Linked DNA regions of Homo sapiens: regions 1, 2 and 4 are each linked to region 3. Evidence: promoter capture Hi-C in human tissues and cell types (Jung and others, 2019). All regions are on one chromosome and are shown on one strand. Each heading gives the region's core, a stretch centred on a gene start or on the middle of the fragment in contact. The rest is flanking DNA. Distances are from core to core; before and after follow the strand shown. Region 1 overlaps CACNA2D3 (calcium voltage-gated channel auxiliary subunit alpha2delta 3). Region 2 overlaps CACNA2D3 (calcium voltage-gated channel auxiliary subunit alpha2delta 3). Region 3 holds the start of WNT5A (Wnt family member 5A). Region 4 holds the start of CACNA2D3-AS1 (CACNA2D3 antisense RNA 1).

Region 1 (6,257 bases), core at 753-3,252, 530 kb before region 3:
CCTGGCCCAGAGTGGGCCCTCAGTAATTCTATTTTCTGTCTTCTTAGGACCAGCCATGCTTGTTATTTTATTTTAATTTTTGGAGACGGTCTCACTCCATTACCCAGGCTGGAGTGCAGTGACGCGATCTCGGCTCACTGCAACCTCCCTACCCCAGGTTCAAATGATTCTCCTGCCTCAGCCTCCCAAGTAGCCGGGACTACAGGTGCCTGCCACCATACCTGGCTAATTTTTGTCTTTTTAGTAGAGATGGCATTTCACCATGTTGGCCAGCTGCTCACAAACTCGTGGCCTCAAGATCTGCCCGCCTCAGCCTCCCAAAGTGCTGGGATTACACATGTTAGCCACTGGGCCTGGCTGGCCAGCTGTGTTTATAAACTGCCTCCTGCACCCCTGTTGGTTCTATACTATTTCTTCCCTCTGTAACCGCCTTCTTAGAGACAAAGGATGTTGGCCTTGCACTCTGCAGCACCCCTGTGGGCACAGGTTTCCTAGAAACTAAGCCCCCCAGGGCTCTGATCTCTCTGGGGCCCTGCCTAGTTTCCCAGGAGGCTCCCCAGTTGTCTTATTTCTTCAGAGGGAGGCCGCAAACATGAAGGGTCTGGAGGCTCTGGAAGATGTCATGAGCATCTTAGGAGCTCTTTTTGGGCTCTCAGAGACAGATCAGTTCACAGATGTGGGAAAGAAAAAATAAAACATGAGGCAAAAACTTGCAAGAAAATGTGGACTTACCAATCTCATATTAAGCAGACGGAATGTCAATCTTTTCTATAGGGACAGGGTCATTAAATGCATATTTTTTGAAGTAATTTTAGGTGAGTCCCTTTGGCTCATTCATTATAGTTATTTATTTTCTGCTTCTATTCTGAAGTCAGAAAGATCTGGTGTTCATGGGTTCAAATTCTGGTGCCCGCATAGTTCCCTCCAGCTTCCAGATGGGAAAGCTCTCTCATCTGTTTTCCAGCCCAGCCACTCCAAAACCTCAATGCCCTCAGCTGTAGAACAGAGGGACAATGACAATATCTATCTATGAGGATTCCACGTGCTCTTTGGATGTTTTACAAATTCAGCAGAGTTGGGAATGTTCTGGGTGGTTGAGATGACACTAGGTCTGGCTTACTTGTCTTCCAGCAACAAAGGAGGAAACTTTTCATAGGGATTTGAAGCCTAATGTTCCTGAAGGTGACATGGAGTCTGCTTAGTGGATGGATTGTTGAGCAGGAGTCATTCTCCAGTCTTGGAAAAACTGTACAGAGACTCAACTGCAGGGGAGGAAACCAGGATATGGATTAAATAATGCATGTATTTAATGTACATACCTGTTGTTATGTGTATGTGTGGGTGACATTTACTGAATATTTACTATGTGCCTGGCACTGTGCTAGGCTCATGACATACATTAGCTCATTTAAGGCACAAACGTATAAGGTGTGCATGACTCCTGTTCCCATTGTGCAAATGAGAAAACTGACTCTGAAGGCATGCTGCATGTACATGAAACAGGCAGGACTCAGCCCTAAGTTTGTCTGAAATTTTCAAATCTGGGAAGGAAGCAGACACAGATAGTAACTAAGAAACTGCTAAAGTGGTGGGGCCCGGTAACACTACGGCTTCTTACCTATAGAGGTGAGACTCATGAAATTCCCCACCCTCAGTACAGATAGCACTGGGCCAAGATCATGGGACGCAGCTGAAGCCTTCGCGCTTGGTGGTCAGATGGCCCATGCTGTGCGTAGAGGAAAAGTACCAGTCATTACAACAAGGCCTCAGGAGACCTTATTCTCTCAAAGCCACTTCTTGCAATACTTGGACATCCACGATCCTTTCTATTTTAAAGACTTCTGTCCATGCTAAAAGGTCCAGTTCCCCAGGAGCTGGGAAGGAGGTGAGGATTAAGCCATTGTGCTGGTTGTTTCCCCCTTGCCTGTGAACGCTTGGGGCAACCTCGGGCTCCTGCCTCTGCTAGCTTGACAGGCTGTGGGAATCACTGGGAGTGGGTGAGGGGGGTGCACTGCAAGTCAGTGCGCACAACCCTAGGTTCTCTTCCAGGATCAGCCCCAAGCAGACCTGAGGAAAGGCCTGGGACTTGGAGTCTGAGTAGCCTCTTGAGGTCACCCCGTTTTGCTAAGTGCTCCATTGTTTATGTTCTTGTGTCATGAATAAGCAGAGGCCACAGATTTCAGTCCACAGATTTCAGGAGTGCCATCCATGCAGTTTTATTTGAATTCAACCTAATTTCCATCAGAAGTCTTCATTATCCTAGTAGGCAAGAACTTTCCATGAATTCAGTGTCTCTCTGCCTATTCCCAGGGTTTACCTGAGGCCAAAGAGAGAGGGGGTTATTTAATCATGTCATCATGCAGGCATTTCCTGAGTCACCCAGTCGCATCTGGTCTTCTGTCATCAGTCCAGGCACAGGTCAGTGCTATGGCCTCCTCATTCCAAGGGAAGGTCACCTTCGAGTCAGTCGGCAGCTCCCTGGGCCTCACTCTGAAGAGCCTGCGGGAGCACGAACACTTCCCCACTGAGTTGTCTGTCTGTGGCCTCTGGGAGGCTGTCTCCTTTCTGGCAGTAGCAGGGCTTAGAGCAGGGATGCTTTCACATTCTTCCCAGCAATAGGAGAGAAAGGACTGTGTGGAGCAGAATACTCCTCACTGCTCTGGTAGTTTCCAGAGTTAGACCCAAGGTAGGAAGGCAGATGCCTGCCCAGACATCAGGGTGCATATCTTTCTGTCGGGGTCTACCAGCCCTTCGGCTTCCCTTTGATTCTCTTCCCTTTCCAGTCCAAATCATCTTTCCTGAGCAGCTCGTTCAGGAGGCTGGAGGTAGGGTGTGGAGAAGACAGGGTGCAGAGAGGACAAACTGGCCCAGGCAGTTCCCCTGTTTTTCTTCCTGCCCTGAGATTCCCCAGGCCTCAGCTTTTGAGAGTCAAAAATCCAGAATCTGCTTCTTTGTTCTCTGGATTCCTGTGTGTCCTCCCTTCCCTGAGGCCTTAAGCATGGAATGCTTTAGCTGAGGGAACAGAGAAGAGCCAGGGGGTGCCAGGAATCTTCAGAAAGAAGAACAACTGGGTTTCAGAGTTATTTCTCAGAGACAGCATGAGAGGCGCCGATTAACCTCCTTGTGTCTGGACCACAGTGCATTTGCTCATTCATTTACTCATCTAGCTTTTATTGAATGCTTACTGGGCACCAGCTATGCTTAGGGAATATGAGAGGTGTAGAGAAAACTTCCCCTTCACCCTCTGAAGGTTTGCTGAAAATCAACTGACAAAAGACCGATTAGTAGGAGAGAAGACATACAAAATTATTCGAACGTACGTAACATGGGGAATCGTAGGAGAATGATTATCCAATAACCCAGTGGGGTACAGAAGCTTACATACTGTATATACATTTTTCACAGGGGACAGGGGAGATGGGGACCCACCCTGGAGGAGACGGGCAGACATTAGGGAAGGTGAGGGGCAGAGCTGCACAGGGACAAAGGTTGTCTTATTATGCAGATAATGTCCCGCAGGTAATCTCTTGAAGCTACTCTCAGAAGAACAGATGAAAAGTCTGTCTGGGCTGGTGATGACTCCCACTCTCTTCTCTGGTCATTGATCTTTCCTGGTTATTTGATGAGATTTCTAGGGCAGGGGTTTAAGACAATTGCATTTCTTTTGGAAAAAAGAAAAAAGAAAAAAAAGCTCTCTTGGTCAGATGAGGATATTCCAAAGAGAGTCCCTCCCTGCACTTAGGATAAGAGGAGAAACAATACTAAGCTAGAGGAACGTTGATTCTGAGGCAGCTTCTAAGGTCTATCAGCATGTCAAAGCTCCAGTCTTTGGGATATCATTCTTTGAGTCCCAACAGAATGTTGGTGGAATGGAGAAATGTGTAAATTGAGGGACACTGAGATCAGACAGCCTGGCTCTCCCCTGAGGCCTCTGTCTACCGAGGGGGCTTTTTTGGGTATTGGCCCTGCTGAGAAGGAGTTGGAGTTGACCTGCCAAATCAGATGGGAAAGTGCCAGCCCCACCTCACAGCCCACCCTCAGGAGACCTGACCAGCTAAGCCTGCTCACGAAACCTGGTGAGAGTCAAGGAGCAGTGGCTTAACAACAGAAGATGGCTTTTCCAGCCTCGCCATCTGCCTGATGAAGAGAAAAAATTGGTATTCTCCACTCCAGGGCTGACTCCCACATATTCTAAGGTCCTGAGATTCCAGGAAATGAGAGGGAAAAAAGTGCGTGATTACTCCAGAGTGCCGTCCGCCCCTCCTTAATGTTTCCCTGTCTCCTTCTCCCTCCCCTCCCTCCTCATAATCACCTCATGTGCAGCTCTTCTGGGAGGATCTGCCTTGGGCCAGGTCTGCTGCAGCTGATCATATCTGCCACCCAGGTGTTTGACTTTGAAGTGGGTATCTCCCTGGCCAGAGGGAACCAAGCCCAGTGGCTTGCCTTGCCAGGCTGCCTTGCTGCATGAGCAGACCCGTAAGCGCATGGTCTTCCCTTGGCTGTTCCTGGTGTAGTCATCCTTTCCATGTACAATGAATTGGAGATTCCGGGAAAAGAAAGTGATGGTCTTGTTGACCCACCACCAAGGGGACAATTTTGCTGTGTCAGGCTATCCCCAGAATAATTACCAGTTTTTGTTTTAACCTTCCTGTCTTTGTCTTTTAAAGGCCAGGAAATGCAGCTTCCTAACTTGCATGGGCCACATGGTCTTAACGTTCTCAGTCTTTTCAAACTCGTTACCAACCTAGGATTTTGTGCACAGCCAAAAATACTTTCTCCCCCACTCCCTCTTCAACTGGTCTTAGGCTGTCATAAATTCCTGCTCATCCTACAGACCCTGCCTCTTTAGTGGAGAGCTCTTTAACTCTACCTCCAGATTAGGTAATTTGTTCTCAGAGTAATCTTAAGGTAATGGCCTAATCACCTAAGCAAATCAGTCATCATTACCTAGGGGAAGACAGAACCCATTTGAATATTTAGATGCATTAATTGGTGCAAATATTCTAGAGTGTTTAGGTAGCAAATGACTTACCTTGATACCTCCAGTTTGCATTTTATCTGACAGAAAAGAACACCGAGAGCACACTACATCTTACAGTTAGGGAAACCTCTTTGCCTTTGCTGTATAGGTTGAAAACAGGGGTGAAGGTAACTTCTTAGTAGGAGACTTGAGGCCCATAACTTTCTTCTATGACCCTTGCTCTTCTCCAATATCAAGTTTGCAGGATGTTATTAGGATTAGCAATAAAGTTTTTTAAGCTTCTAGCAGACACCTGGCACATACTAGAGGGCTTCATAAATGGGATTAATTATGATTATTACTACTGCTATGATTACTATGTGATATAATTCCTATGAATCAAGTTATAAAATAATTTTCTTTTTTTTTTTTTTAGAGACAGGGTTTCTGTCCCCCAGGCTGGAGTTCAGTGGCACAATCATAGCTCAATGCAGCCTCAAACTCCTGGGCTCAGGTGATCTTCCTACGGAACTTAGACTATAGGTGTACGCCACTGCACTCAGCTAATTTTTTAAAACTTTTTATAGAGATGGGGTCTCACTCTGTTGCTCAGGCTGGTCTTGAACTCCTGGCTTCAAGCAGTCATCCCATCTCAGCCTCCTAAAGTGCTGGGATTACAGGTGTGAGCCACCACACCCAACCATAAAATAATTTTCATCATGGAATAAGTCTTAGGTAATTCGGAGACATATCTGGTGAGCAGAGAAATATGTTTCATTAAATAATTTACTTGGAAGCCAAAGCATGTTCAAACTTATCAAACTAAAATGACAGAGCCTTGAGGTCTGGTGTGTGTGTTAGGGAGGGCCGGTGGGGAAGTGCTGTAACTGGCCAGATTCAGATACGACTGATGGGCCTTTGGCAAACTCAGGGGTTCCAGGCCCCACCCAGTCAGGAGGGTTAGAAACAAGATCACACCTCTCCATCCCTGGTGCCCATTGCTCCATGCCAGTCCGTCTGTCATCTCTCACCCGGTAGGATGAGCACGCATGACCCCTACACAGTCCCCCAGACACAAACCATGCATCCCAGCAACTTCCCCTGTAGATTTTTCCAAAGCACAAATCTATTTGTGTCTCACATCCTTCCCTCCCCTGCTGAGAACCTTTTCATTGCTCTCTGTTGCTCTTGGGACAGAGTCCAAACCACATGGATGGCAGAGGTAGATGTCTGGAGAGAGCAAACTCCCTGAGAATAATTGATATCTCCATCCACATTGCATTCAACCACCCCGTGT
Region 2 (6,095 bases), core at 723-3,222, 610 kb before region 3:
ATCCAAGGAGCTTCTGCTTCAGCACTGCAGAAGAGAGACACATTCACCAGGGGCTCTGGAGAAGCACATCTGAACTGGACAATGCAGGGCCCAGGGGAAAGGGTGGTTCCCAGAGAGCGGAGAGGCTGATCACTGTCGCCAGATGAGTATTTTCAGCTTGAGGAGATTTTACCTTTTATTTTATTGAGTACACTGTGGTACAAGCTGCTTTAATGTCCATTGCATTACCACACTTGCGAATGCTTGATATCTGATATGGAAAAATCAAGGTATGCCACTGATGTTTTAATTTGCCTTTCTCTGACTATGTGTTAAGTTGAACAGCTGCACATGGGTTTTTTAATGACTACATAATATGCTAACATATGGGCACATCAAAACTTGTTTGGAAATTTTCCTCCGCCAGGCCATTTGCATTTTTCCAGTTGTTCACTGTTGTAAATCCAAGCAGTGGCAAGTTCAAAGCAGTGAACATCTTGCCCTCCCCGCCTTAGGTGGGGACTGATTGCATTGCTCTTCCCCATCACTTTGGCCTGTGCTTAGGACTCCTCTGCCGTCTTACAACCTAGGGGTGCCACTCACTGTGATTCTGGGCAAGTTGCTCCTCTTCTCAAGCCGCAGCTTCCTAAGATAAAAAAGTGACATTTCTAGAATGTTCCAGCCTCACAGTGCTGTATTCTCACAGGGCAGTCTATTAAGTCATCAAACTCCCTTTCCTCCTCTGGCAAGGAGGACAGAAAGCCACCTTCCTGTCAACCCTAGATCATAGTACTTAGAGCTCGTAGAAGAGTCTGCCAGGAAGTTAGGACCTCAGACTATGACGTGGTCAATTGTTAAAACATTTTATTTGATTTTTAAAAACTCAGAAATAATATATGATTTTTATATTAATGCTATAAAGTATTTAATGTTGTCCAAGTGCTTTCTCTTCTGATTTGGGAAGCAGAGGTTAAGAGCATGGGCTCAAGAGGCAGAGGCCTCGTTACCCTGGGCAAACTTCTTATCTGTGCCTATTTCTCCACCTGTAAAATGGAGATAATAACAGCACCTCAGAAGATAAGTTTGAGGGGTTTAAAATCTGTGCCTGACACACAGTAAGAGCTCAGTAAGAACTCAGTAAACAGTATCTCTCAGTAGTATCCGAATTTCATAGGAATCTGATGACCTCCCTTTTTATAGCCCCTGACAGGATCCCTGGGATCTGGGAGTCCTCACTCATGAACACTTTAGACAGAATGAATGAAACAGGAAGAAAGTGAGCCACAGAGAGGTCACGGGACAGCTGGCTTGTGTCAGTGGCAAAACTTGAACATCGATATCGTGGTTTACCTCTTTACCTGGGGCTGTCTCCTTTTCGGTCTATGTAAACCTACAGGCAGTTAAGAGCAGCAGTTTTCAATGTGGGGAGTTGGAGGAGAGGTCACAAAATCCATTTAGTGGTTCATGAGCAACATAGCAACGAAATCTACTAAAATAGGAGATAGAGAGGGGCTCATCAGAGTAAGATGTATTTCTTACATGGCTCAAAGTCAAAACAGTTTGGAAAACATTGAGCTTGGGCATCTGCCTCAAGCAAACTCAAGTCCGAATCCTGATGCTTTAAGCTACTGAAAGGTGTCTGACACTAAGTGAAAATGAGCAAGATGGTAATGAGGATGACGATGATACAGATACTGTTGACTGTGGTGTTGATGATGATGGAGGATAGCTAGCATGTATTGAGTGCTTGGGAGGCACCAGACACTCTTCTAAATATTGACTCGTCAGTCTTCACTACAACTTAATGGGATGGGTGCTGGCATTAGTTCCATTTTTCAGAAGAGGAAGCTGAGTCACAGAGATGGTAAGTGATCGAGATACCCAAGATCATAAAGCTCTGGCTCCAGAGTCCATTCCTTAACTACAGTGCCATCCTGCTTCACTAGTAGGTTCAATAAGTATAACCTGTTTTTGTTATGATTTAAGACAAGGGCAAGACTAAAGGAGGCATCAGTGACCCTGGCCTTGGACACTCCCAGACCCCCATGTTGATTGTTCTGTGCTACTGGGAGTTGGGGGTGGGGTGGCATGGAGACACAGCGAGGCTTACCTAATCTCTAGTTTGCCTGGGGAATGTGAGAGGAGAAGGTCCCAAATGGCTTTAGGCAGGCACCAGAAAGAGGAAAAATGAAAACCATGTTAAAGATAAATCGAGCCGTTCTTAAAAGTTAGAAAGTAGACTTAATTAGGACCAGCTCTCCCTGTCCAAAACCACAAAAGTTAAAATGGGAAAATATTTCCAGAAATGCCTATTATGTGTTGTTAAAAAAATATCTAGAGTAAAATATATGTTTTATTTTATACATGCCTCCAGCTAAAAATTATGCCTTTACTCACTCACACAGAAGATGAGAATGCAAACCCAAATCTAGACAGCCTCGAATCAAATTTAGGTTGCTTGCTAGTGTTGCAGTTTTCTATCGGCCAGATCTTACTCAAGCTCCTCAAAGGAGAAAAGAGGGGAAAAGATGAAAAAGACAAGAGAGGGGTGGGGAGAGAGCCTTTCCTGACAGGCTGTGGCATGTCAGCGTTTGCTCCTATTCCATTAACTGGCCTTCTCTGTCGTCTTGCCTTGGTGCCCATGACGGCACATCTTTCATCACTGCGTCTGCTGTCCTCCTCTGAACTCATGGAAGGGCCACATGTAATTAGATGAGGTCAGCTGGGGGTGGGGGAGGAGAGCCAGGCTCGCTGCTCCTAAACAGGACCTCCAAAAAATCAGATACAGGGTCGCTCCTGTTCACTGCCTCATCAGCAAGGTCATTAATTGGCCCAGATTTCTCAGAGAGCATTTAAAGATGATTCATCTTAGGAAAGGCTAACCCCTGTCTTCCAAATGCTTGGCCTTTTTTTTTTTTTTTCTTCTTCTTTTTAACTACTGTGTAGGAAAACGTCTTTAACTTGATTACGTTTTGAAAAGTGATTTCTCCATGACAAATCAGTACCCTTTTTGAAAACGTACCTTGTCCCCAGAGACGTTCTTGCTCGGCATTTCAGCGGGTCTCCAGGAGTTCACGCTCTGACCCCCGGGATTCATCAGTATCGCCAAGGCTCTTTTGTTATTGTCCTGAAGTTTACACGAGCTCCCCAAATTAAAGATGAAGGTCATTTATTTATTGTTGTTAGCCTGTCTCCCATTGTACATGAGCAGTTGGGTGTTTTATTCTTCAGAAGCTCTGTTTTCGAGGTGTAAGTTCAATATGGAGGCTCCACTGCACGCTGAGGATGCAAGATGTCCAGATTACATGATAACCCAGGGAAGAACTAACACACTTTTCTTTTATCATTTTAGTTGAGAAATGCTATGGTGAATCGAAAGACGGGGAAGTTTTCCATGGAGGTGAAGAAGACAGTGGACAAAGGGGTACATTTTTCTCAAACATTTTTGCTGCTTAATTTAAAACAAACCACTGTGAAAAATTAGCTTTGAAAGCTATATCTGGAATAAATATCTTTCGCTGAGATCATTTTTCTCTTGTCTTTACTTATCTCAAACAAGATTCATGTAGTACTGTTAACCTGATCATAGTGTGTCCATTTATTTTTATTTATTTCTGAAGACGTCACTTAGCAGACTAACCATGTTTTCTTTTCTCTACGACTTTTTTTTTTTTTTCAATCTAGAAACGGGTTTTGGTGATGACAAATGACTACTATTATACAGACATCAAGGGTACTCCTTTCAGGTAGAGCTGACCATAATACATGGACATTCCATCAGACCCATCAGTTGTGTTTGTACAAAACCTGCTGACACTCTCAGAGCTCATCATCTGAAGATAACCAAACACCCTGCCAAAAGGCTGGAAAGAGTGAGGAAGGGGCTTTTCCCAGGCTGCTTTTGTTTTCCAGAAGGGGGGGAGATGGTTCAGGCTCACCTAGGAGAACTCACTCAATCTGCCATGGCTTTGCATCTCATTGTCAAGCAAATATGCTTTGGGGGTTCCCGCTAAGGGTGAAGACAAGTGCAGAGGGTTACCAGGGTCCTTAACTATTGAACTTGCTGCTTTGTGAGTTCCATTTCACCTTTTATTTCCATGACCAAAAAAACAATCCTTCAAACCTGGAGGTGGCATATCCATTCCTACATGTTGTGCCTCTGTTTCCATTTCTCTGAACTGTCCTTGTGTGCTTGTCTACTTTTGAATCCTGTTGTTTCTCTTTGTAACAGTCCTGAAAAATGGCTTTGCCTCATTGGCTGCTTTCAGATGTGTATGTAGCATTCTAAAGTTTCCCACTACTATTAACTTAGTGTTGTAATTCATTTTGTAAAAAATTATTTCAGTAAGCCTGCTTCATATTCCTGAACTGGCGTCTCAGAGCTAAGGAGAGAAGGAGTTTACTGACTGTAGAATAATCTGAAAAATAAATTCTAGCATTGTTGTCCTAAACTGCCAAGGATCATGGGTGGATTCCATGTGGAACCAGGAGCAAATAAGGACCACATGAGCTGCTAAGTGGGTTTGCCAAATAGTCTCTCTAACGTAAGGGACTATGTTTTAAAAACATAGTCTCTTGCTTTTGATAAAAACGGAATGGATCTTAAATCAAGCCAGTGAGTGTGAAAAACCTATTAGACTAGGGAGAGGATTGGGCAAAGAAGCCTGCAACACAGTAATGTGGTTACACTCATGTAGTAGTGGAAGTTTTTGTTTTTGCCCTTGAGCAGGGGTCAATTTCCCGAGTCCCAAAGTCTAGGGGCTGGAGAGACCCATCTCTGGCTGAATGCAGGACAAGGGTGTATAAAGAGCAGGGCTCATGGTCCTTGGGAGGGCATCTGAGAGAAGGGCTTGCTGGAAGGGCGAGCAGTTTGCCACAACTCTGAAAACACAAAGAGTAGCCAATTGCTGCTGGCATTTCTGATCAGAAGTTACTTTGAAGCAGCTGATTGAACCTAAGAAAAACCAACACCAGTGATAATCAGTGGGGTTTTGAAAGTAAACAGTTGGAAAAATTGTTGACAGATCATAAAATGGAAATGTGAAAAATGGAAAATTAAAAAATGTTAGCCCACAAGTCTATTCGAGTCGATGCCAGGGATTTCAAGATTTGCTTTGTCTCTCTGCACAGTTTAGGTGTGGCGCTTTCCAGAGGTCATGGGAAATATTTCTTCCGAGGGAATGTAACCATCGAAGAAGGTAAGATACTGCCTGGCTCGTCTTATCCTTTGGTGTGGGAGGAAAGCTCGGGAGCTAGCTACTGAGTTAGCTGAAGAACTTGTTCATCTGTCCGCACCTGTGACCAGTCCCTTGGACATTCCACTCAAACGAATGCCTACTTGATAATTCTTAATACCTTTCTTCTTCCCTGGTGTGCCTAGATTTCAGAATGACAGGAGTTCCGATTCATGGTTGTGATTTAATTTACTTATATTCTACTTTCATCCACAAAGCTGTTGACTATGAGTAACTCACAGTCAACAGCATTATGGATGAAAGCAGAGTATCAGTAAATAGGAATCATCCCTCAAGTATATTCTTCTCATACATAAAAATCAGTACTTGGGAGAAATACAAATTTATGAAATAACTCATGCCCAGGGGAAACCATGAAAACAGAGATATGAGAGCCTTAGTCTCTCCTACACAGTTGAGCCACGTATTTCACTTGTGTTTCATGGCAGCCCTGGCCCAAAGGGAAATGTGACCATTTAAATGATTTACATAGGTCAGAGGGAGTAAGTAGCACCTTGAAGTTCCCAGACCCTCTTATCTTCATAAAGCACAGAGGCACAGTAAACTCTCAGTAAACAGGAGCAGTTGTTATAGCTCTTTAAATTTTAAAATTGCTGTCACATGTGCTATCCTTTTCATCTGCCAGCTCCCTAGTAGTTCAGAGAGGTTACCTGTCCCAGCATTAGGAGCTCACAGGGGTGGTGGACATTGTTTCTGAAGGGCACCACTCCCTGAGTGGCCTTGAGTGACTCACTTGCAGGTCATTAGGTTTTGCATGTCCACAGAGGAGGAGTGGGCCCAGAACAGTAGTCTTTCTGGATGTCTTTAGGGAGGACAGCCAGGAATGGGAAGGTCAATTATAAGCAAAGTTTTAATTGGTCG
Region 3 (6,195 bases), core at 1,377-3,876:
CAGGATACACACACACACACACACACACACACACACACACACACACACACACACCACTCACACCTTCTCACATAGGATGTCTAGCCCTCTCGGCAGAGGATCAACTTTGTCCAGAGGTGGAGCAGAGTCCTTGGACAGAGGAAGAAAATGAAATGATAGTCCAACCCCCACTCTTTAAAGGTAGTTTCTCTCCCACTTTTTAATAGACGATTAAAGTGAGGCGAAAAGCGGGAAAGCAACACTTGTTCTCGATCATAGAGAGTTGGGAGGCAGCTGAGGCCAGACCCGAGGCCTCCTAGGGCGACACTCTCCTTCCCAAGCCCAGAAGAAGAGGTACCAACCCTGTGTCCAGCTGGCCGAGTCCCATTTGCTGGGCTGGACCCGTGGCCCCTTCCGTATTGCAGCGGCCGGCGGCGCAGCGAAACTGGTCCTCTGGGGGCCTCCGAGGGCCCCTGCTGGGAGAGTGGGGTCTGGTGGTCGGGAGGGATGAAGGGAGCAGGGGTGGGAGGGAGAGGGGAGCAGCTGCCCGCCCGCCCGCCCCAAGGAACCGAGGCTCGCAGGAGTCCTACCTCAAGGCGGCCAACAGGGGGCAGCCGGCACCGCACCGCGGGGAAGAAAAGGCCGCGGGGATGGCTCCGAGTTCTGCGCGCATAGTGCTAACCCCTTGAGCACCGGAGCGCACGGGGGAGGGGAGGAGAAGACAGGGGACTCTTGGGCCGGGCCTCCTGGGGAGGGTCTTCCGTTGAGAGGGTCGGGGGGTGGAGGAGACGAAGGCTACTACGTCCTGGACCCGAGAACAACTCCCCTACACACACAAACACACACGCACACACACGCAGCCAAGGATCCACACACTCGGACACACACACATTTGTCGGCCCGCGGTTCGCTGCGCACTCTCCGCATTGCCCCCTCGAAACTCCCCTGGCAGAGTCTGTCTAGAAACTAAATCTGGCTGGTTCGGCAGTGAATGTGCGAAGGTGGCTGGGGGGAGGGCAGGGGCTGAGGAGGTGCGACCTCACCGCAAGGCCCAAGTTACTTCCAAACAGCGAATTACCCATTTAAAGAGAGAAGAGAGAAAAGAGAGGCGAGAGAGGAGAAGGGGCCTCGATACCAGACAGGGATTAGAAAGTCAAACAGGGCCGTGGGGTCTCCAGACTTGAAGTTTTTTGTTGTTGTTTTTTTTAACTTTTTGGGGGGAAGAGGGGTTATTTGCTTCCAGGAAACATCTTAATTTCAATTCTAACCTTATTTTCTAAGAAACTTAAAATGGGAAAGACCAGAAAAATGGAAATAGGAATCGAAGCTTGGAGGACAGATAAGAAAAATTGTTTAGAAAATAAAAACTTATGTTGCAGGAAGAAACGTTAACTTTTCGTAAAAGTGAACTCTCAGTGACCCTCGGAGTGTGTGATTCGGCTTTAACATACAACTGACAATTAAAACAAACAAGAGTTCGCAAACTGGCCCCCGCCTGCTCTCCCAAAGCGGAGGCCCAAGTGTTTTCTAAAGGACAAGGCGGACTCCGCTCAGGGGGCCGGGGAGCGCTGTCCCGGAGTACGGGATTACAGCCACTACCACCACAACTCCCCGCCCCCACCACTGCTGCAAAGTGCCTGAGCTCACCCAGTGGCGGCTAATAATGCTAATAACGCGACCCCGCTCCCCGCGCCGGGGTGCGCGCTGGCCCCCCGCCAGGCACTCTTAAAGGCAAAGGGGCCTGAAGCGCTCGAGTTACTCGGCCAAGGCAAGCCTACAATCTGGCCTCCGTCGGTGCGGGGGGGTGTCGGGGAAGGTGTACGCCGCTCTGGAGTAGTTGGCCCCTAGTTCCTCTGCGGGTTCTCTCAACCAAGGAGTCCCTTTCCCCATCCCGAGCCCCGGCCACACACCGTCCCGGTGCCCGCGCAGTGGGCGCTTGGTAAATATTTGTTGAATTGAATCATTATCCTGTTACTGAAATATACATAGTAAATTACACTCGATGTTCTCAGAGCAAAAGGAAAGTCGTCAGTGAACCGCACTCAGTTTGTCTACTATCGCTCTTCCCCACTTTTTCTCAAAAATCAAAATTGTTTGCAGAACGGGTGGTGCGACCAGAAGTGATCTCCTGGGACACTGAGGCAGTGCGCCCGGCGTGGAGGGCGAAGGGGTAGGGGTTCCTGCCAGCGACGCTGGAGTTCCAGCTTCTTCAGGCGGTTGGGGAAATGGAGGGATAGGAAGAGGCGAAGGGAACTCAGTTAACTTCCAACAGGGGGTGGGGGGAAGTAAAGAAAAAAAGTGGCAGCGCACTGAACACCTACCTTCATGGCGAGGGGGAGGGGGCGCGGGGAGGAAGTCGCCACCCGAGCGAGCGCAGCCGAGGAATCCGAGCGGAGCGACCGGGTTAAGCCTGGGGGGACGGTCAGGAGCAGGGCTGCGGAGTCCTCCGGCGCGCGTCCGGCGGGCGCAGTGAACCGGAGCTGAAGCGGGCACTGGCGCCCGGGCCTGGACTCCCGAGTTGGGGCAGAGCTGGGATGCGCCCAGGAATGGAGGGGGCGCGGACGCGCGCGAGCCGGCAGCAAGGGCAGGGCCTGGTCGGGGCGCAACTAGGGAGCCGCCGGTCCGGCGAGGGCGCGCAGGCAACTGTTCCACGGAGAGGCGCTCCGTTTCCAACGTCCATCAGCGACGGCGGTAATTAGGGCTTTCCAACCCCAAATGTGGGCGTGATTGTGCAAAAGACCTTACGACAAATAATAATAAAAAGAAATTCTTCACAAGAGGGTGAAAAAAATGTACCACTACTCAACTGTGGCCCGGGGCGGGGGAAGGGGGGCGATCTGTGCGCCCAGGTGCCCCCAGTTCATTCACACCACAGATTCTGCAAACTCTTGGCGGCTCACGCCTCCTGATCTCCAGCTCCTCCTCTCTGGGTCTGTAGCCGAAACGTCTGCTTCCAGACGCTGATCCTGCAGCCGCGAGTTAGTGTGGACGTCTCTGTACACACACAGACACACACCCCAACACACACACCCCCGCTGCAGCTTTGGGGCCACAGAACAATCAGGCGCGCATGGCTTTTTCTCCGGGAGATGCCGCTGAAAACGCACAAGTCGCCATCTGAGCTGCAAGAGTCAGCCCCAAATTGTGTCCTTTCATTTTAGGGTTCGGCAAAAACGGGGAGCAAAATAGGTGAAAGTCGCCCCGGAACTTATTGCTGTGCGGTGAGCTGGAGGGGTGCGACTAACCCAGGGGAGACGCGGGCTCCCCCCCCCCACCACGTATCCCGTTCTTTCTCTCTTCGGGTTGATCTCTCTTTTCCCCGTTTTTCCAGGGCGAAGGGCGAAGAGCAGCGAGTGCACCGCGGGCGCGAGGCTGGGGAAGGGCGAGAGCTCGGAGCTCCGCGGCGGCGACTCAGCTCCGGCGGTCCATGGCCGGCGAAGCTGCCCACCTCCTCGTTTGGCGCCCGGGTCCGAGGGGCGGGAGAGCGGGCCGGCGGGAGGCGGGCGGTCCCGGGCACAACGGCGGCGGCGGAAGGGCTCGCTGGGCAGCTGCCGCACGGACCCCGGCTCTGGGCGGCGGAGGCGGCTCCGTGGAGCTCGCAGCAGATTTCCACGCGATCCTGTGCCCCGCAAACAGACTGACCGACCGCGGGGACGCGTCCCCCCCTCCCACCCCCCAGCCCTTCTGGCCAACTGCCTTACTCTCTCCCTCCCTCTCTCCAGACTCCTCTTTCCCCTGGTGTTCTCAGAAGGAAGAAAAAAAAAAAAAGAAAGAAAGAAAGAAAGAAAAAAGTTCTTTAAAGTTTCAGAACTAGGGGCGGCTGGAAAGAGAGAGGGAAGGGGGGGGAAGAAAGAAAAAACTCAACTTTGCTATGCGCATGCGTGGTGAGGCCGGCCTATGACAAACTCTGCAGGATTTTAAAGCCGTACTACGGGCTGGGGTGCCGGGAGGCGGGGTACACTCTCCTTGTCTCCCCTTCTCTAAGTTCCCCATCCCCCGCGGCATCTGCTGAAAGAGAGAGGTCCACTCCGCAGCCGCTGCCTGCCTGCCGCCTGGTTGTCTGCGCTCCTTCCAGAGCCACCGACCGGCGGGAGGCTGAACCCCAACTTCCCCGCCTGGACCCCTTGGCTCGCCCGCGTATCCCAGACCGCTCCCACTGGGGCTCCACGGAGACTGCTGCCTTGACATGGAACCTCATGGGGGACCTCCTCATTCTTACCTCTGGGGGAGGATACTTAAGCACTGGGGCTGATGGATAGGGTTAGGCGCTCACCTCCTGCAAAGTCCCCAGAGTAGTAGGGACTTGGGTAGTGGGATGCATGATTGCTCATCTGGCTCCGGCCCAGAGCATGAGGCGCGATGCGTGGTCCTGCCACGGAGATCTTGGCGGGTGCCCTCAGGTGAGGAGATTGCGAAGTTTGGCAAAACCGGGTTCCGGGCACCGGAATTTCTAGACGCTTCCAGATGCCCGTGGTTTTGGGGACTCCGGAGGGGCAGGGTTGGTGGATTTGTGTCCGCTACCTCCAGCACGCCGAGGGCCCCACCCCACAAACAGTGCCTCACACTGGAGCGTAATAGTTATTTTCCGCCGTCTGCATTCTCCAGCTGTCAAAGGTGAAGACACACACACGCGCGCACACACACACACACACACACACACACACACTATTCAATTTTCTCCGTCCATTGGCATGCACTTGACCTTAAGGCGAAAAATCCGTGGCCTAGGTGTTTTGGTGTGGTGGCTGTTTTGTTTTGTTCCTCCAGTCCTCCCCCACCTCCACCCCCACACCCCAGAGGGCGCAGGCCCAGGCTCCAGCGATGCCGTTCCACCCTCCACAGCCCCTTCCCATTCCTTAATTTTCCTAGCCGACTGGACCCTTCCCCAGCCCTGGCCTCCTTCCTGGCGCGCAAAGATGGCAGTGTGAACTTCCCACCAAGTGCCAGAGACAGATGCTCCTGCTTAGCACCTCCCGCCTCCCACCAACTTGCTTTCTTTCCCCCAGGGCGTGTGCGGCCTTAAGGAGAGGGAATCCAAGGTTCTCAAAGCTCCCCTTGGGACATCTCCCCTTTACCTCCTGAGTCTCCATTCCTCTAACCTTCTCCTCTGTAAACCTTGACCACTTCCCGACCTGTGGGCATTTTACAGTCTTCGAATCTAACCTGAGATCTGCCCACCTGAGGAGGGTGTCTGAAAAAGAGCGTCTCCGCCCGGCAAATCGCCCCCAGGCTGCGTCCCTCCGCCCTTCCCCCTCTCCCTTGCCGTTCTGCCCAGTGGCCGCAGACTGAGATTCCCTGGCTGCGGGAGAGCATGTGCCTCCTAGGCAGACACTCCAGCCCCGCCCCGCGGGCAGGGATCTCCGGGACCCACCTTACGTGCAGCAGCTCCAAGAAGTGGCAGGATATGAGCTGACTATGAAAGGGGCTGCCAAAGGGCGCTCCCGAAGAATGGAGAAACTAGCATCCCAGTGTCCCAGAGTCCAAGGCAGTTCGTGTAGAGGATCCTATTCTATGAAGAAAAGGGCCGTTAACCTGGGCATTTCCTCCACACATACAGCCAGTCTAGAAATACTGGCTACCCAACCACAAACCTTTATTTTTTAATGGCTATTTTCTGAGTTATCTGGATAATCACCTGCTTCTCTCCAATTGCCTTTGCTTGTATAGACACAGCCCAAACAGTGCTATTTCCTGTTCTGCAGTCTTTCCTCTAGTGGAAGTCGGTGTTGGTTAGTGGTTAAGAGTGCCAGCTGTGGAATCTGGAGTTCCAGTCCCTGCCCTGCCACTTTCCAGCTGTCACACCTTGTCTAGCCTCTCAGCCAGCACTTCAGAACCCTCTTACACACAACAACAGCAACAACAGCAGCAAGCAGAAATTTCATGATCTACCTTGCAGAAATGCATTGAGAATGAAATGAGATGAGCTTGAAAATCAGGGCAGTACTGAGAATGAAACACGATATCTAGGAATGCTCTTAGCATGGGTCAGGCCCTTACCTGGCACTCAATGCCTGCTCTTCTAGAAAAAAAGCAGCTCTGAAAACAGAGGTTTTCAAACTCCTGTGGTGGTAAAACTGGACCTCACATGACAAGACATAATCTTGATTTATTCCACTTGCTAGGAATACTCTTCACTGAATGAATACAAATGCATTTGGTTACTGGGTATTTCCCCAGACCTCACTGGGCTGCTTGCAAATTAATAGCAATATGCCC
Region 4 (6,276 bases), core at 1,671-4,170, 590 kb before region 3:
CATTTTGTCAGTAAGAGTCAAGATCAAATGCAAGCAGCTATGCTATGTCAGACCGTTTTTGACCTACAATTACCTAGTTCTAGTAGCACAAAATTTTATAGCAGTATTAACAAAGTAGAGCACTTATGAAGACGGCCATAGAAAGGAATTTAAACAAATTGAGAAATTTTATTTTTGAAGATATAGGAAATTGTGTTTAATACTGGAAGAGCTCTTATCTGGATATGAGATTAGATTTTTCTTGTGATCATTAAGCATACACCAAGCGCCTGCTGAGAGCCAGGCCCTGGAAATATTGGGAGGAGGAAGGTCCCAGACCTTAGAAAGGAGTTAGGACATGCTAGTACAAGTTACAGGGAGGTAGATTCCAGAGCTATCTAAGAACCTGGAGGGTGTCCTCGAAGGGCATGGGCCTCCTCTCCAAAAGTGGGCACTCCATCTTTGGTAGAGGTGAAGGGAACCCTGGTTAGACACACCCTGCAACTACTGAATGCTTTCCTGAACTGGGTGCCAAGTTCAGGAAACCAACCAGTTACAACTTAGCATGAAAATTTCTCTCCATGGTCCTTGTGATCCAACTCTCTGCTGCAAACTGCTGGGTTGAAAGTGGTGCCATTTCTGCTTCAACTCATGGCCTTTTCCCTACCTATATGTTGTCCCTTGATTGGTCTCCCTTCCAGAAAAATGTCTGCAGCAGACTGTGGCCTAACCAGGCGGTCATCCCCCCACCGCCTGAGTTGCACCGTATCAGCCAAGATGAGGCGCTTCAGGTGCTGGACAGCACATGTGACTCTCCAGAGGGAATGTCAGGTCAATAATCATGCACTGGGACTTGAATATGCTTAAGGCTCTGTGAAGAGTGCACAAATGTGAACAAATCTCCTGTCCTCAGAGATCTTGGGAGGTCTGGGGAGGGGATATGATGATTGTGCAGGCCAAAAAATAAATAAAAGGCTATATGAAAGTTACCAAGATTGTGGGGGCCCAGGGTGTGGCAAAAGCTTGCATGTGTTTCTGTGGATTCATGGGGTAGATGGTAGATGAGGCGCACTTTGAAAATGAGTGTGATTTTGAAAGGAAGAGATAGAAAGAAGACTGCACCTAGCCTTCCCGATAGACAAGCTCTCTGCGCAGAAGGCAGGGAGTCAGTGGAGGGCGGGGATGCACACAGGGGGCATGAGCAGGCCTGTTTGTCCAGCGAGGAGGCAGGTGAGGGAAGAAGGTACAAAGATCTCAGTGTGGGCTCACATTTACTTCCTTTGCACTTCTTCTGAGAAGCGTGTTTACCTTCTTTACACTTGCTCTAAGAAGAATGAGATCTACTTAAGGAGTTGATTCTCCCAAGGGTATGAGTATATGTGTGTGAGTATTAAAGCCAGACAAAGCTTTCTTGTTTAGAGGGGACATCCTTGGGTTTTCTGATAGGATTTCTGTAGGCTTTGTTTGCTTGGCTTCAGACTTTAAGACAATTAGTTCACTAGATATACAAGGAAAAATCATTTTACCCACTCAGAATTTGACTCCCAGAGCTCTGCAAGATGTTTTTGAGTAATCTGGGGTGCACAGTGTTAAGTGAGGCCCCCTCTATACTGAGAAAGGCAAGTTGGGGTTCTAAAAGTGAACACTGGTTTTACCTGATGAAGGCTGTCGGGGTGCTCCAGGCCCACCTTTACTCTGCTGAGTGATGCATGTTCTTCTGATTCTTTTCCACTTCAAGGGACTTCCTGAAAGCTGGCGACAAGGAGAACATTTTTAACGCAGACCATTTCCCTCTCTGGTACCGAAGAGCCGCTGAGCAGATTCCAGGGAGCTTCGTCTACTCGATCCCATTCAGCACTGGTGGGTGCCCTTGTTGGAGGCGGGCTCTGTCTGTCTGGTCCAGTGGGTCTGGGCATTGTGTGCAGGGTGTTGGGGAGCTGCCTGAATGCTGAAAGGAACCAAGTTCAACCCTCAGAGCCAGTGCTGAATATTGGGTCAGCCCTGAACCAGTGACCAGTTCCATAAGAGTAATAGCCTCAAAGAAAAGGAAGGTTTTTCCTTTACCAAATTATGTAAATGTATTTCAGGAAGCAGGGCTGATGTTTTGCATCCTATGGGATTTTAATAGAAACTTGTCAGTCAGTTTTTTTAAATGTAGTCATGGCCCCACTTAGAGAAAATTCAAGCATCCCTTGCCAGAACCTTCAGTGAGTCACATCCCTGCAGAGGTCCACTGTTCCCCATTTGAACTGAATTGATTTAAACTGATATGCCGGACTAAGGACTGACTTTGTATAACCATGTGCTCTCTTGACAGGAGCCTGCAGTTACCAATGACAGGCATGTAGCCGATTAGTTTTTCAGTCCTAAGAGTTTATGATATGATAGTATAAAAAATTAAAGTCACCTGCCTCCAAAAAGAACTGAATGATGTCTTATTTCCACCAGTTTTGGAAGCAAAACATACTGGAAATGCTTCAGTTTTCCTCGTATTTTTTTTTTCTCTTGCCTCATGCATCTGGTATTTTGGGTGCTCACTCTATACTGCTTATTGCAGAAACTTGAGAGATGAAGGAAACCTAGTTCTGTAAACTTGGGTTGCTCTGGAAAGTTCAATCTGTAGTTATATTTTACATATATCAGTTCCTTTCATATTAATCTTCTACAAATATTCCTAACTCAATCCTAAGGGAAGTTCTCCAGGGTTTGTGCCCAATCCCCCTCCCTAAGGCTTGGTGCTTTGTCATTTCCATGACTGAAAATATTTTCAGAAAGGGTGCTTTTGAAATTTGTAGAAAGCAAAGAGTGCTCTTACAATTGGTTGAATGGGCTCATTAGGAAGACAGTCCCTCATCAATGGACATATTTAAGGAGAGGCTGAATGTTATTGATGAGATTCTTTGCTGCTTGGGATTTCAGACTAGATTATCTGTTAGATTCTTTTCAGGTCTAAGGTTCTTTGGGTCTGTGCTCCTTTGCTGATAGACCTGTGTGTATGCCTGCCTGTAGTTGTGTGTGCTTTCTCAAATGTAAATTTCCAGGTGTCCGAAGCTCGCTTGCTTGCTTGCTTGCTTGCTTTCTTCCTTCCTTCCTTTCTTTCTTTTTTCTTTCTTTCTTTTTCTTTTTCTTTTTTCTTTCTTTCTTTCTTTATCTTTCTTTTCTTTTCTTTTCTTTTCTTTTCTTTTCCTCTCTCTCTCTCTTCTCCGCCCCACCCCGTCTTTTTTTTTTTTGAGACAGAGTCTTGCTCCGTCACCCAGGTTGGAGTGCAGTGGCATGATCTTGGCTCATTGCAACCTCTGCCTTCTGGGTTCAAGCGATTCTCCTGCCTCAGCCTCCTCAGTAGCTGGGATTACAGGCACCCGCCACCATACCCAGCTAATTTTTGTATTTTTAGTAGAGTTGGGGTTTCACCATGTTGGCCAGGCTGGTCTCTAACTGCTGACCTAAAGTGATCCACCCTCCTTGGCTTCCCAAAGTGCTGGGACCATGCCTGGCCTGAAGCTCTTTCTTTGTGCTTGTCTGCACCACACTTTGTTGCTGAAAATATCAAGAGACAGTGAACTTTTTCATTCTGCTGCAGACCTATGAATAATAACATTGTCTTCTGTCAAGCAATCTCTTAAGACTTCCTTGTCACAATCCTCTAAAGAAAAATAATAGAACTTAGCTTGCTGTTCTTCTGATTCTGGAATCATCGAGTTAACTAAAGCTGTTGTTGGATTGGTTTTTGGTAACTGGGATTTTCACCAAACTTTCAATGTAATGGTATAATGAAGTGAGTTTACCTTGTTCATGACAAAGTTACAGATGACGTAACATCTTAGGACATTTCATAACCCCCTTAGAGTCCGGGAAAATCTTAAAAATCACCAACTGCAAGTCTCTGTGGTGGAGCTCTCTCTGATTTTCTCTGCTATGTGTTGAATACCTGTACAAACTAGAAAAGAAACTGGTTTTTATTGCTGCTTAAACTTGGGCCAGGAGAAAATTTCTCATTACTTTGGTCCTAAGTGTATTCATATTCAGGTTTGACTTTTCCCTGCTTCTCAATTCAATTGGATTTCATCCAACTCACTTTCATTGAGCACCTTTTAGCAGGTGGGCATTGGACTAAATTATTAACTCCAGGCATTCAGAATTTGTGCTCAGTATCTTTTAATTCGTGGATATTGGAACCATTGCTGGTAATTGAAAATCTCTTAATACTAATGCCATATTGTTACCAGAATAATAATAGTTTGGAGTGAAGATTATGCTCTAGCTCTATCCCTGTTTAGAATAATTTTGCCCAGAAAAACTGGGCTCGAAATTACAATTTTATAGATCAGTAAAGATTTAACCAATGAATCAGAGCTAAAGTTGCCAACTTGTAAAATAATTTCAAAGCCCTCATACAGCTCTTCATGGTTATATTTAGACAGGCAGTGTAAATATGACCACTGACACAAGTAAACACTGCAATTTGAAACCACAGATTACCAAAAAATGTGGTCCCTCGATGGTGGTCAATGGTTTCGATGTGAAGAGGCTGGATGTTCCCCAGTGCACTGGTGGTCATAACTCAACTCGCCAATTCCTTCAGCTGGGAGGACTCGCAGCACTGCACTCATGGCCTGGCAGCGTAGGCAGAGCATCCACACCTCAGAGGACTCTGGGGCCTGGGACCAAGCCCCAGAACAATTTGCAGAATTGGTGACTGTAGACCGATATGATTACTCTCTTAACGTGTACACTGTAATTATCTTCATTTTTGTTGTGGTGTTTTTTCTTTTCACAGGACCAGTCAATAAAAGCAATGTGGTGACAGCAAGTACATCCATCCAGCTCCTGGATGAACGGAAATCTCCTGTGGTGGCAGGTAAATAATTGATTGAATCCATGAAGACAAAGTAAGCATGGCGCCCATTCATCCGGCCAGTGGGCTACTTCTGTGAGGCACGCTTATCCTCCAAAAAGGTTTTCAAAGGAGAAAACAATTTTAAATTACTTCCTTCTCAGCTTGGTGTCATCTCCTTCAAACCAAGACTCTGACAGCTGGTGGTGGTTGATGTGAAAACAGAAAACTTTCCCAGCGTTTCTATCCTTAAACTCTGAGCCAGTAAGAAATTGTCAGTACTTGCCGAGGAGAATTTCTTGATGGTAGGTAGCATGTTCATTCAAAGTAAACTCCAGATCTCCAGCTTCTGTGTCATTAGGATGACAGTGGGCATACAAGGAAATTGCAGGTTTGTTTTAGGCAAACACAAACTGAAATGTGCCCTTCTCCAGAGAGACTGAGATTTTCATCCCCCTAATCCCCCTGGGGAATTAGAGTTAGCTGTATCTGCAGGTGCTGTGTTTGGGACCAGGGGAAAGCCAAAATATTATATGACTGAGAGTCTTGAATTGTCAAAGAAGTCCCGTTTCTGGCTTTTTCCATTTCTCTCACTTTTTAGGAGTGTCAGCAGCTGTCTGTGGATGGCTAGGGGCTTTCATTGGTGGCATTTGGCCTAAAGGGCTGGCAACTACCAAAAAGCCCTCTTTGAAGACAGATGCTGACATAAAAACAAGGCCCGAGGGTGTGTCTGGCACATGGTTTATTCTGATCACTTTGGAGCCATTGGTTGATGGGTGGGTGATATGCTCCAAGCACCATCCTGGTATTGGCTGGGTTTACTAAAGAGAGCGATTTTTGTTTTCCAGCAGTCTCCCTCAATAAGTTGTACTTTAGGGTGACTTAACATCCACTTCTGTGTCTTCACACACTGAATATTTGTGGGAAGGAGTATAAATGGAGCAGATGGAGGAGACCTGTTTGAAGTGGTTGTTCTTTGGCGAGGAAATACTGCTTTTTTCCCCCCACTTTATTTCTTACTTGGCCTGTGTATAATTGTATTAGTAGGGTTGAAAGATCTGGGGGTAGTTGCCCTGGTTATTCCTGAGTTACTGGGTGTGACAAGGATGACAGCCTTATGTATCTGACCTGTGGCTCATCTTGAACTAAGCAGACCTATTCTTAATCAGCCAGGAGATATGGGCTCTGAGGATTCACAGTTGCTGTCTTCAAATTTTGTCACTTAATGTCTCATGTTCCTTGAGGAAAGTGGGAGACGGGATCATTTAACTCAACAAGATTTACTTATGCTTAAAGGAGGTCAGGCTTGCTTACCTCCAGGCTGGTCCAGCGAGCTAATTCTGAAGGCATGTTGTCTCCCGGGAGCTGAGGCCACATGCAGCAGCTGTCAGTGACATGGTCTGGCCAGAATATCTGGTTGTCTGTTTGAAATTTCTTTTTAAAACCCTTTCTTTGGGTTTCTA

The links. Contacts are between HindIII fragments. The study calls those that stand out against the background at their distance.
Region 1: a fragment that was not itself captured here is called in contact with the fragment with the promoter of WNT5A in region 3 in 1 of the 25 tissues and cell types used here (IMR-90 fibroblasts).
Region 2: a fragment that was not itself captured here is called in contact with the fragment with the promoter of WNT5A in region 3 in 1 of the 25 tissues and cell types used here (mesendoderm cells).
Region 4: a contact is called between a fragment that was not itself captured here and the fragment with the promoter of WNT5A in region 3, in 1 of the 25 tissues and cell types used here (IMR-90 fibroblasts).

Annotation. Positions count from the first base shown.
Region 1 is chr3:54,951,787-54,958,043 of GRCh38, forward strand. The region is part of intron 27 of CACNA2D3 (calcium voltage-gated channel auxiliary subunit alpha2delta 3); the gene reads left to right. It also overlaps a transcript of LRTM1 not described here. Among named protein-coding and RNA genes, the nearest start is that of LRTM1, 27 kb to the left of the region's middle. RefSeq lists enhancers at 1,071-2,063, 2,064-3,056, 4,050-5,041. The HindIII fragment of the contact is 4,629 bases long and covers 1-4,317 here.
Region 2 is chr3:54,875,687-54,881,781 of GRCh38, forward strand. CACNA2D3 (calcium voltage-gated channel auxiliary subunit alpha2delta 3) reads left to right here. Exons shown (of 38, transcript NM_018398.3): 19 at 3,332-3,403; 20 at 3,664-3,725; 21 at 5,110-5,177. CACNA2D3-AS1 (CACNA2D3 antisense RNA 1) reads right to left here. Exons shown (of 7, transcript NR_046666.1): 4 at 3,002-3,258; 5 at 1,330-1,468; 6 at 583-625; 7 at 1-24. Among named protein-coding and RNA genes, the nearest start is that of CACNA2D3-AS1, 23 kb to the right of the region's middle. The HindIII fragment of the contact is 5,236 bases long and covers 1-4,590 here.
Region 3 is chr3:55,484,680-55,490,874 of GRCh38, forward strand. It overlaps WNT5A (Wnt family member 5A), which reads right to left and starts at 2,627. Exons shown (of 5, transcript NM_003392.7): 1 at 2,301-2,627. The coding sequence starts at 2,306. WNT5A-AS1 (WNT5A antisense RNA 1) reads left to right here and starts at 2,939. Exons shown (of 2, transcript NR_046656.1): 1 at 2,939-3,200; 2 at 3,311-3,629. RefSeq lists enhancers at 4,251-4,761, 4,762-5,273, 5,836-6,195. The HindIII fragment of the contact is 9,126 bases long and covers 1-6,195 here.
Region 4 is chr3:54,895,032-54,901,307 of GRCh38, forward strand. It overlaps CACNA2D3 (calcium voltage-gated channel auxiliary subunit alpha2delta 3), which reads left to right. Exons shown (of 38, transcript NM_018398.3): 26 at 1,718-1,839; 27 at 4,757-4,837. CACNA2D3-AS1 (CACNA2D3 antisense RNA 1) reads right to left here and starts at 6,224. Exons shown (of 7, transcript NR_046666.1): 1 at 6,128-6,224; 2 at 1,635-1,927. The HindIII fragment of the contact is 8,357 bases long and covers 1-6,276 here.